Regions from separate parts of the Homo sapiens genome. Here region 2 is linked to region 1. Evidence: promoter capture Hi-C in 16 types of primary human blood cells and fetal thymus (Javierre and others, 2016). All regions are on one chromosome and are shown on one strand. Each heading gives the region's core, a stretch centred on a gene start or on the middle of the fragment in contact. The rest is flanking DNA. Distances are from core to core; before and after follow the strand shown.

Region 1 (5,819 bases), core at 1,933-4,432:
GGTTACATAAGGCCAGGAGTTCGAGACCAGCCTGGCCAACATGGCAAAACGCTGTCTCTACTAAAAATACAAAAATCAGCCAGGCATGGTGGTACATGTCTGTAATCCCAGCTACTTGGGAGGCTGAGGCACGAGAATCACTTGGACCTGGGAGGCAGAGGCTGCAGCGAGCTGAGATTGTACCACTGCACTTCAGCCTGGGCAACAGTGAGACTGTCTTAAAAAAATAATAATAAAATAAATAATATATGTATTGTTAGAATTAGATAGAAGGAACAAGTTCTACTATTCATAGTAAGGTGACTAGTTAATAATAACATTGTATATTTCAAAACAGCTAGACGAAACAATTTCTTTTCTTTGAGGCAATGGATATCCTAATCACCCTGATTTAATCATTACACATTATATGCATGTATCAAAATATCACACATACAGGCAGGGCATGGTGGCTCACGCCTGCAATCCCAGCACTTTGGGAGGCCAAGACGGGCAGATCACCTGAGGTCAGGAGGTCAAGACTAGCCTGGCCAACAGGGTGAAACCCTGTCTCTACTAAAAATACAAAAATTAGCTGGGCGTGGTGGCACGTGCCTGTAGCCCCAGCTACTTGGGAGGCTGAGGCAGGAGAATTGCTTGAACCTGGGAGGGGAGTTTGCAGTGAGCTGAGATTGTGCCACTGCACTCCAGCCTGGGCGATAGAGCGAGATTCCAACAAAAACAAAAACAAAAAAAACCAAAAAAATCACACATACTCCATTAATATGTACAAATTATCATGTATCAATAAAAAACTTCACCTCAGAATTTTTAATCTTGTTGGGAGAAAATAAGATAAAAATATGACAAGTCAAATGATTTTAAAACAACACAAATATTTCAAGATAGAAGATATGAGGTAGAAAGTAATCACTTATCAAAGGAAATGCAGAGAAAATACTGTTATTAAGACAAAGGAGAGAGAGAGAGAGATTAACACAAACTGGGCAGTCAGTGAAAGCTACATAGAAGATACAGTGGCTGAATCAGGTAAGGAGGAATGCAGACTCAGCAAGAGGACTGGGCAGGCCTTATGGAGAAAGGCAAAAAGGAAAAGAAACAGGTAACTAGATGTGTTGAAGAGACAGCTAGTCTAGCCAGAATGGAGGATTCAGGTAGAGAAGTTTTGAGAGATAAAGCTGGGAAAATACAGAATAGTCAAATTGTGGAGAGACCATAACTGCCCAACCAAAGGGCTTAGGTTTTCTACTAGGGGCTCACCATTTCTCAGCATATGTTCTGTGGACTACTGGCGTCAGAATCAACTGTGGTGCTTGATAAAAATGCAGTTTCCTGGTCCCAACCTGGACCTACTAAATATGGATCTATGTAGTGGGGCCTGGAAATTTTTATCTTTTTTTTTTTTCCCTTAACTCAGGCTGGACTGCAGTGGCACGGTCACAGCTCACTGTAGCCTTGACCTCCCCAGGCTCAGGTGATCCTCCCACCTCAGCCTCCTGAGTAGCTGGGACTACAGATAAGCGCCACCATGCCCGGCTAGTTTTTTGTTTTTGTTTTTTTGTATTTTTTGTAGAGACAGGATTTTGCCATGCTGCCCAGGCTGGTCTCGAATTTCTGTGGCTCAAGTAATCCTCCCGCCTCAGCCTCCCAAAGTGCTGAGATTACAGGTGTGAGCCACCATGTCCTGCTTTTATAATTTTTAAACAATCTTCTCATCTGATGTTTATGTACACAAACATTTCTGAATCATTGTTGTATGTATTAGGGAACTGTTCAACCGGTTTTATTTTCCCTTAAAGAAAGGGTGGTATGACCAAAGACAGTGATGTATACAAGATATAAGAAGGATTCAGGGCTACCGAAAAGGCACTGTAGAGTCTAGGTATGACCTGATAAGGATCTAAAATAGTACTGTTGACAGTAAAAACAGGGAAAAAGAAACTGATCCAACAATATGAAGGAAGGACCAACATGATTCAAAGTCTGATCAGGACTGAGAGGACTTAAATTAAAATGATGTGTTGTATACTAAGCCTCTGATATTAGAATGTTGCTATCATGAACAGAAACAAGAAGACTGTCACAGGCAGCCTCCTTTAAAGAAAAAATAAAGTTCTTTTTATTTCATTAATTTAATTAATTTTTAAGAGATGGAGTCTTGCTATGTTACCCAGGCTGGATTTGAACTCCTGGGCTCCACCAGTGATCCTCCTACCTCAACCTACCTAGTAGCTGGGATTACAGATATGTGCTGCCATATCCAGTTCTTTTTTTTTTTTTTTTTTTTTTTTTTTTTTTTTTTGAGACAGAGTCTTACTCTGTCTTCCTGGCTGGAGTGCAGTGGCATGATCTTAGCTCATGCAGCCAAGATCTCATGATCTCTGCAGCCTCCACGTCCCGGGTTCAAGCTATTCTCCTGTCTCAGCCTCCCAAGTAGGTGGGACTACAGGTGCATGCTACCCTGCCTGGTTAATTTTTATATTTTTAGTAGAGACAGGTTTTCTCTATGTTGGCCAGGCTGGTCTTGAACTCCTGGCCTCAAGTGATCTGCCTGCGTCAACCCTCCCAACGTGCTGGGATTACAGGTGTGAGCCACCGTGTTCAGCCCATACCTAGTTCTTAAAGTCTGTTTCAGTCATGTTAAACTTGAGGTGATGACAGGATGTTTGACAGTTGTGTGTGTGTGTGTGTGTGTGTGTGTGTGTGTGTATACACACACTACACCACACGAAAGCATTTTCTGTCCCATATAATCTAAGTTTACTAGATATTTTCTCAAATAATTGCTGCAGTTCCACAATTGTTACATTATCTGATCAGTATCCCATGGACTCCAAACTCACATTTTCAAATCAGTCTGTAGATTTCAAATAAGTCTTTTAGAGAAGATTTGAAATGGAAGATACCATTTCAAAACCTCTTTTGAATGACACTAAAGCATGTAGCAGGCCTATAGAATGAGCATACTGTCAAAAGGCATTAAGTGGAAAACCCTCCCTGCTCTGGAGGCGGGGATTGGTTCTACAAAGCCTCCTGTCATGCCAGTGGCCAACTAGAGAAGTTGGAGCTTTTTCGTTGTTTTTTTTTTTTTCCCTCCTGTGACATGTGCTTTAGTTGCAGTGGAAAGGAAATGTGTCATCTGTGGTTTGGTTTTAAAAGTGGAAAACTAGCTGCACATATCCTTTTTTACTGCAGATTTACTTTAAGGCTCATATTCTCCAAGTCTATTCTGCTTTAAAAAGAAGACAAGAAAAGAAGTGGTTTATCAAAATCACGTTATAATCAGATTTTGACCAAGCATTTTGTAAGGTAGGTCATATATATACGGCTTTTCTTATGCCTTTTCACTTCTAACGTCTGACAGATTAGTGTTCGAGGAAATGCTATCAAAGTGTGTAAGAATCTCACTAACAAACTAGAATTGTGACTGAAAATGTATACTTTTTTTTTCTGTCCTGTTACATAAATTTTAAGTTAGAAATGAAAAAATTTGCCATCGCCATGGAGTTTTAAATTAGGATTACGAAGGATCTAAGTTTGGTTTCCTCAAGTAAACTGGAAATGTTTTGTTATTTTTCAAAAGTTAAAAAATAAATTTCTCATTACTAATGCTTGGACATTACAAATTCTACTGAAAATAAATTCTACTGAAAATGATCAGATATAAGAAAACTTCTGATAACACAACCTGGCCTCCAAGGCATAAACTGGAGTAAAAACAGTCCTCAATTCTCAGGCATTTGTAAGGGCAAGAGAAAGTCTCATTTTGTCATACAGTTTGTTTATTTGGGCACTGCAGTACATCTGGCTGAAGACAATCAACAGCAGGCCTATTATCTGTTCCGTGGTAAGCACTGTTAAAATGTGTACCAATACTATGATGTATACTACACTGTTAATGAACTAATGTGAAAAGAATAATCTACTTTAAATCATTCTAGCATCTAATACAGAAGTCCAGTCTAGTATAAAAAGATGGAAATTACTTGCTAATCCAATTTCAAGTATTTCTTTTTGTGGAAGAATCATGAAATATCCAAAGATTTATGTCACTAAACTTAAAAATTAAAGCTGAACACTATTATACAAAAGCCAGTGACTTGGGCCTTTAATTGTCTACTAAAGGTCATAATCTAAAAAGTAATCTTAATCCTGGAATATTTAATAGTTTTTCCTCCCTACTATTAATATGAAATATAGTCTCCAGTTAGCATTGTTTATTACATGCTACTTTTGTTTGCATAACTCAACGTATCACATTTCTTATTTTCAATTTCTGTATTTTAATAGTATACAAATGTCAGCCAATGACATATAACAACCATTTCTTATAAAACCTTGATGTTCAAAAGCCTGACTAGCAGTGGCATCCATGTTGCTTAGGAGTTGGTTTGGAAACAAAGACTTTCAGGCCCTACCTATACTAGCTAGGTAAGAATCTGCCTTTTTTTTTTTTTTTTAAATAAAAGGACTCCTAAGTACATTTGAGAAGAATTTCTATAGCATACGTAGGGTTCTTAACCAGGCAATTTCATTTAGTAAATCTCAGGAGAACAATATAGTTTTGCTTTTAGTTCATTCAAATAAATGCTAACAATAAAATACTCCTTTCAAAAGTAGCTCAAGACAAACTGGTATATTATTATAAGATACCTTAATAATGATTATAAATCTTTCCTGCTGGGTTAGCAGTACATGGAACTGTTAAATTCTAAGATATGCCATTTCTATTTAAATCAATCATTTGGTAGATTTAAAAAATGTATAATATAACTTGTCTCCTTTTTGTACTAGTTTCCAGCAAGCTCAGGGCCAAAGCGGAAATTCAACATTTTCAATTATCTGTTGAGATGCTTATAACCTGCCACTTCATCCCAAATCATCAAGATCCTGATGCTCTATTTCTATTTTATTACACATTTTTTTTTACAATTATGTCAAAATCAGAAAAAATGCTAGGTATAAATGATGCTTTAAAAGAAAACCCAGCAACTTTTGTTGAACTTTTAAGTCTACTCAGAGGAAATTTGCTGTTTTTTTTTTTTTTTCTTCAGATTTTTAGGTTGAGAAAACTGGTATGCCTTTGCCTTCAGAAAGACACAGTCAGTCCAGGGAAATATAAATGAAAAGAGACAACCACCACAGTAAAATTGCGTTCACAAATACACTTACAAATGTATTTCTAAGTACCAGCTTTATTCTAAGCTTCAAGATGAACACCCAAGAAAAAAAAAGAACACCTTGAATTTCTATTTGAAGTTCAGTTTCTTTTGGTTGCTACCAAACTTCCCCTCTTTCCACCAAAAAAATTTGCATTTATTTCATACATGAAGCAAGAAGCTCAAGGCCACATTTCTTCTGTAAAGATTGGTGACAGGTTAGAGGGTGGGTAGTTTCTGTAAGAATGATCCTTAATTTTTTTTTTTTTTTAAAGAAGGAATCAGAAAAGTAAAAGCAGAACTAACTGACTCAAAGCAGAAGTCTAGCACGCTTCAAAGGAAGAAAACTATATAAAGCCATGATAGTCCACTTAAAATGATTAATATTTATTTGTAATGCTAACTTCTAGCATCTAAAAGTGTTAATAGAAATTAAAATGCTTCTTCATACATAGCTGAATAGAAAAGAAATTTAGTTGAGAAGGAATTCAGGGTAGCGAATATTAGGCATAAGCTTGTAGTTTACTTGTAACATCTCAACACTATCTTTTAACTACAATTACCAAAACTAGGATCCATTATTCTTTCACAAACTAACAAATTATATTGCTATCCCAACAGATTGCCAAGCATGCCCACGGACATGGAACACACAGGACA
Region 2 (5,439 bases), core at 809-3,308, 370 kb after region 1:
TGGATAGGAGCCCTCAGGCTCTGAAGGTTCTGCCCATTCCCCTTCCAACCCCACCATACCCTTTGCCAGCTTCACCCTGCTGCCTCAACTTGGAAGAGGCACCTTCCTCTTTTTCAGGCTGTAGACAAAGAAGCCGGAAAGGAAGTTGGAAAAAATCAGAAGTGGCTACTGCTTGGCAAGGCTGAAAGTGCTGGCCTTGGCCAAATTCTAACCTAGGTCAGGGAGAGAAAGCCCAGCAACAAGAACCAGGCGGAGGGGCTGCGCCTCTCTGAAAACAACCCTTTGACTGCTTTTTCCACCTGCCCAAGGCTTGCTTTCATGATTGCCTAACACAGGAATATCCAATCTCTTGCCTTCCCTGGGCCACATTGGAAGAATTGTCTTGGGCCACACATAAAATACACTAACACTAATGATAGCTGATGAGCCAAAAAAAAAAAATCGCAAAAATATCTCATAATGTTTTAAGAAAGTTCACGAATTTGGCTGGGCATGGTGGCTCATGCCTGTAATCCCAGCACTTTGGGAGGCTGAGGTGGGCAGATCGCTTGAGGTCAGGAGTTCGAGACCAGCCTGGCCAACATGGTGAAACCCCATCTCTACTAAAATTACAAAAATTAGCCGGGCATGGTGGTGGGCACCTGTAATCCCAGCTACTCAGGAGTCTGAGGCAGGAGAATCGCTTGAATCTGGGAGGCGGAGGTTGCAGTGAGCCGAGATCACACCACTGTACTCTGGCCTGGGTGACAGAGCAAGACTCTGTCTCAAAAAAATTTAAAAAAGAAAGTTTATGAATTTCTGTTGGGCATCATTCCAAGCCGTCCTGGGTTGCATGTGGCCCATGGGCTGTGGGTTGGACAAGCTTGGCCTAACACCTTTCACTGTCCTCTTAACAATCATCCCATAAACACATGAAACCTTCTATATACATTAAACCATATTAAGTTCCCCAGGGAGTGATAGAAGGTACCTTTGGCCCAGTCTTTTCCATGAAGCCTTGTTTGAGGTAGTTCCTGGTGAGGAATGGCACGAGCTGGGGAAGAGAGACAGACACTGACCCCCAACTCACACCCCAAGGCTCCAGGTTCCCGCCGAGCTTGGCTCCCGACAAAGGGGAAGTTTGAAATGGGGAAGGATGTACGCTCATGGCTCACAGTATTATATTTGGAAAGTGCAATGGTCATAATATTAATATTTCAACAAAGCCAGTCGACAGCACCCCAGATGTTTGCAGAGCTTAGTGGCACGGCCGAGTTTTGGTTTAAGGATTCCTTCAGTAACCCCAGGGTGTGGACATAGGCAAGGCTCTGCAGAGACCCTCTTGGTGTCAGGCAACATGTTCTGAGGGTCCACTTTGCATCAGGCTCCAGGTGCAATTCTCAATCACCCTGCGAGGTGGGTATCACCAGCCTCATTACACATCTGAAGAAACCAGGCCACAGAGAAGGGGCTGGGGATTTTCCCAAAGTCACATCACTGGTAGCACAAAGAGCTGAGATTCAGGCCCAGGGCCAATGACACTAGACTGTACTCCTACCACTACACTAGGTGCTAAAGTATAAATATGCCAGGGCCCTCTGAGCAGGACCTTGGGAAAGGCCTGGTCAGGATTCTGACACCAAGCAACAAGAAAATAATGGCCAGAGGCTGGGTGCAGTGGCTCACACCTGTAATCCCAGCACTTTGGGAGGTCAAGGCAGGCAGATCACTTGAGGCCAGGAGTTTGAGACTAGCCTGGCCAACATGGCGAAACCCCACCTTTACCAAAAATATAAAAATTAGCTGGGCATGGTGGCACGCGCTTGTAATCCCAGCTACTCAGGAGGCTGAGGCAAGAGAATCCCTTGAACTTGGGAGGCAGAGGTTGCAGTGAGCTGAGATAGTGCCACTGCACTCCAGTCTGGGTGACAGAGGGAGACTCCATCTCAAAACAAAACAAAACAAAAAAGAAAAGAAAATGATGCCAGAGTGGACAGAGAAAGTTCTGAAGCAGAAGTCGGGAGACCTGGTTCTAATTCCAGTTCTGGCCTCCATCAGCTGCATTACCTTTGTTAAGACCTTCTGTCTCTCGAGGCCTTATGTCTCCCCTGTGTGATAAACAGCCTGGATCATGTGATCCCCAGCATCCCTTCCAGCCTGGCAGCCTACGCCCAGAGATGTTTCCAGGGGTTGATGATGGCCTCCTATGCTCCTAGGCATCAACCTGGAAAGTCTAGAGCTTCAAATGACAGTCCAGGCTTCAAAGAACAGAGAGGCTTCTCCAGAGCTCCAGGGCCCAGGGCAGAGGCACAGGGGAAGTGAGGTCTGGGGAACAGCTATGGGAAGTTTAAAAGGGGGAAATTTGTGAGCCAAAAATGAAAATATTAGGCCAGGCGCAGTGGCTCACGCCTGTAATCCCAGCACTTTGGGAGGCCGAGGCGTGTGGATCACGAGGTCAGGAGATCGAGACCATCCTGGCTAACACGGTGAAACCCCGTCTCCACTAAAAATACAAAAAAGTAGCCGGGTGCAGTGGCGAGCGCCTGTAGTCCCAGCTACTCGGGAGGCTGAGGCAGGAGAATGGCGTGAACCTGGGAGGCGGAGCTTGCAGTGAGCCAAGATGGCGCCACTGCACTCTGGCCTGGGCGAAAGAGCGAGACTCTGTCTCAAAAAAAAAAAAAAAAAAAGAAAAGAAAAGAAAATATTGGTCAGATGCAGTGGCTCACACCTGTAATCCCAGCACTTTGGGAGGCCGAGGTAGGAGGATTGCTTGAGGCCAGAAGTTCGAGACCAGCCTGGGCAACATAAGTGAGACATCATCTCTATAAAAAATTAAAAAAAAATTTTTAATGTAAGAAACAAGATATAAACTGTACTACTCCCCTTCTCTTAAAATACATTCACTAGGCTTTAATTGTTCCATTTGGAGAAAACAGATGGAGTCCCGAACTGCTCAATATTCGGAATTTGAGCCAGCACAGAGCAAGCAGAGGCCTAGGGAAACCATTGGGAAAAAAAGGAAAGTCACATGGCTGGAGCACTGCTTCCTGTACTTCTGATGCCTTGGCTCGCTGGAGTCTCACAATAGCCCTAGAAAGTAGGTACTATCACCTAGGCAAGTCACCTCACCTCTCTGAGCCTCGATGCACTCATCTGTCACCATGGCGACAAAACCTACTTTCTCTGAAGTCCAAGAGACCATATGCATTTATTACAGGACCACAGACCCCACTGGGATGCCCTGGGTTTCCAACATGTGGACCCCTAAAGCTTGAGCCAGGCCTGGTGATTGCTCAGAACCTCACACCATACACAGACATTAAATGGGAGGAAAGACACGGGATGGATATCAGGTACCGACAGTGGATGAGAGAGGCAGGGGAACATTGAGGATGTTGACCAAAGAGCAATTTCCTTTACACATGTCAGCAAAGATGGGCAGCTTGCCCAGATTAAATAAGGCTGAGCATCTGCACTTTGTCCTCCCTCCTCATAGTCAGCAGTCAGCAGTCTCCACTCCCCGCCCATGGGAGCCAGCATTAACCAGTTCTGGGTGCAAACTCAGCAGACTGACTCAAGGGCTCTGACTCGGGCCTTGCTGGAATTGCTCCCAGAGAGCTGCCATCTCAGCACATCCCTGGGCCTGGAGGGGACCCTATTCCAGACAACTGGCTCCCTACAAACCTTGGAATTAAGGAGCATTTAGGCTTTCAAGGAAACTCTAATGGTTGAGATTAAGAAAATCCCAGCATTAAAATGGTTTTCCAGCCCCATCACTTATAAAATCCTCTTGGAGGGGAGCCTCTTGAAGAGGACCAGAGCATAGAATCTCAGAGGCGGAAGGGACCCTGAAGATGACCTGGACTAACCGCCATCTTACCCATATGGAAATAGAAGCTCAGAGGGGTGCCAGGACCTGCAGGGGTCACACAGCAAGTGAGCAATAGAGCATCCCTGAGAGCCCAGGCTTCCTGGCTCGAGACAGCATCCTCTGCCCTACACCATGCGGGTCTCCCTGGCCCAGCCTGAGATAGGGAGATGAAGGCCCCAGAAGTCTGGAGACAATCAAAATGAAGTTCTCGGCTCCCCATGATGTTGGCCATGAAGGGCATACCTGCTCCTGTTACAACTGTAATGGAGAGGATCCCAGGCTTTCCCAAGCCCAGAGCATCACAGGGCAAAGAGGGGATTTTAGAAAGGGAAGCACACCTTTGGTTATTCACCTGCCCTTCCTGGGACTGTATAACTCATCAGTGAAATGGAAATAATCACCCCTGCCTGGCTGCCATTTCACAAGACAAAATGGGCTCAAAGCACTCTGTAAGCAGTATGTTAGGGATCATTTGTACATTTTAGAGGGAGAAGGGTTCAGAAAGAGATGACCAATTGCTGAGCCCCTTGACACTCTTCTGAAGGGGAGACACTGACCAGCTTTTGGGAGGCCGCCTTGTCGTATGTGAGGCTGTAACCCCCGCAGGCTCCCCTGGAGAATGCCTTGGGCTTCCCTCTGAGCAGCCCAGCCCTCAACCTCGAGGTCTTGCCTGCAAACAAAACTAGTCTGGCTTCTTCTTCTTTTTTTTTTTTTTTTTTTTTGAGACGGAGTCTCACTCTGTCACCCAGGCTGGAGTGCAGCGGCGCCATCTGGGCTCACTGCAAGCTCCGCCTCCCGGGTTAACACCATTCTCCTGCCTCAGCCTCCCAAGTAGCTGGGACTACAGGCGCCTGCCACCACACCTGGCTAATTTTTTTGTATTTTTAGTAGAGACGGGGTTTCACCGTGCTAGCCAGGATGGTCTCGATCTCCTGACCTTGTGATCCGCCCGCCTCAGCCTCCCAAAGTGCTGGGATTACAGGCGTGAGCCACCGCGCCCAGCCCTAGTCTGGCTTCTGAGTGTCTTCGAGGTCAACAGACAGGGAAAGAAGGAGATGGCCAAGAGGAGATTCAGAAATTGGGGTCCGCATTTAGCTCACCTCAGACTCTGGGAGTTCAGGAAAGGCCATTTTTAGGTACTGCAGACGGGCTGCACGGAGGGCATTGAACCAGTCCACTATCTCCTGCGGAGAGAAGTGCACAGGACACACACACAGCAGTGAGATGGGGTGGGTGGGAAGCTACCTCTGGTGGCGGGAAGCTAGCTGGGCATTGGGTGTGGGGCACATATATTCAGCACCTGCACACACCCCACAGCTCGGCTCAGGGGCATCCAGGGAGGATTGTGTCAGAGCCTCGTGGGCTAACCCGGGCAAGCAGGAAGCCTCTGACAGGGATAACCCCAGAGCCCTGGAAAAGGATTGAGTGAACTGCATGGGAGTTCTGCAATGGCCTCGGACAGTGCTTTTCACCTTCTAATGCGTGCAAAATCACCTGAGGCTCTTGTTAAAATGCAGAGGCATATCCAGTAGGTTTGGAATGGGGCCCAAGACTCTGCATTCCTAACACGCTCTCAGGTGATATGATGC

Evidence for each region. The method cuts DNA at HindIII sites, captures the fragments that hold promoters and counts their contacts. A CHiCAGO score of 5 or more calls a contact.
Region 2: a contact is called between a fragment that was not itself captured here and the fragment with the promoter of EVI2A in region 1, in 1 of 17 cell types (M0 macrophages). The highest score is 5.2, in M0 macrophages.

Annotation. Positions count from the first base shown.
Region 1 is chr17:31,318,985-31,324,803 of GRCh38, reverse strand. EVI2A (ecotropic viral integration site 2A) reads left to right here and starts at 3,182. Exons shown (of 2, transcript NM_014210.4): 1 at 3,182-3,309; 2 at 5,781-5,819. The coding sequence starts at 5,791. All of the region lies in intron 36 of NF1 (neurofibromin 1), which reads right to left. The HindIII fragment of the contact is 8,918 bases long and covers 1-5,207 here.
Region 2 is chr17:30,948,882-30,954,320 of GRCh38, reverse strand. ADAP2 (ArfGAP with dual PH domains 2) reads right to left here. Exons shown (of 11, transcript NM_018404.3): 7 at 4,951-5,034; 8 at 971-1,033. Among named protein-coding and RNA genes, the nearest start is that of RNF135, 19 kb to the left of the region's middle. The HindIII fragment of the contact is 2,387 bases long and covers 865-3,251 here.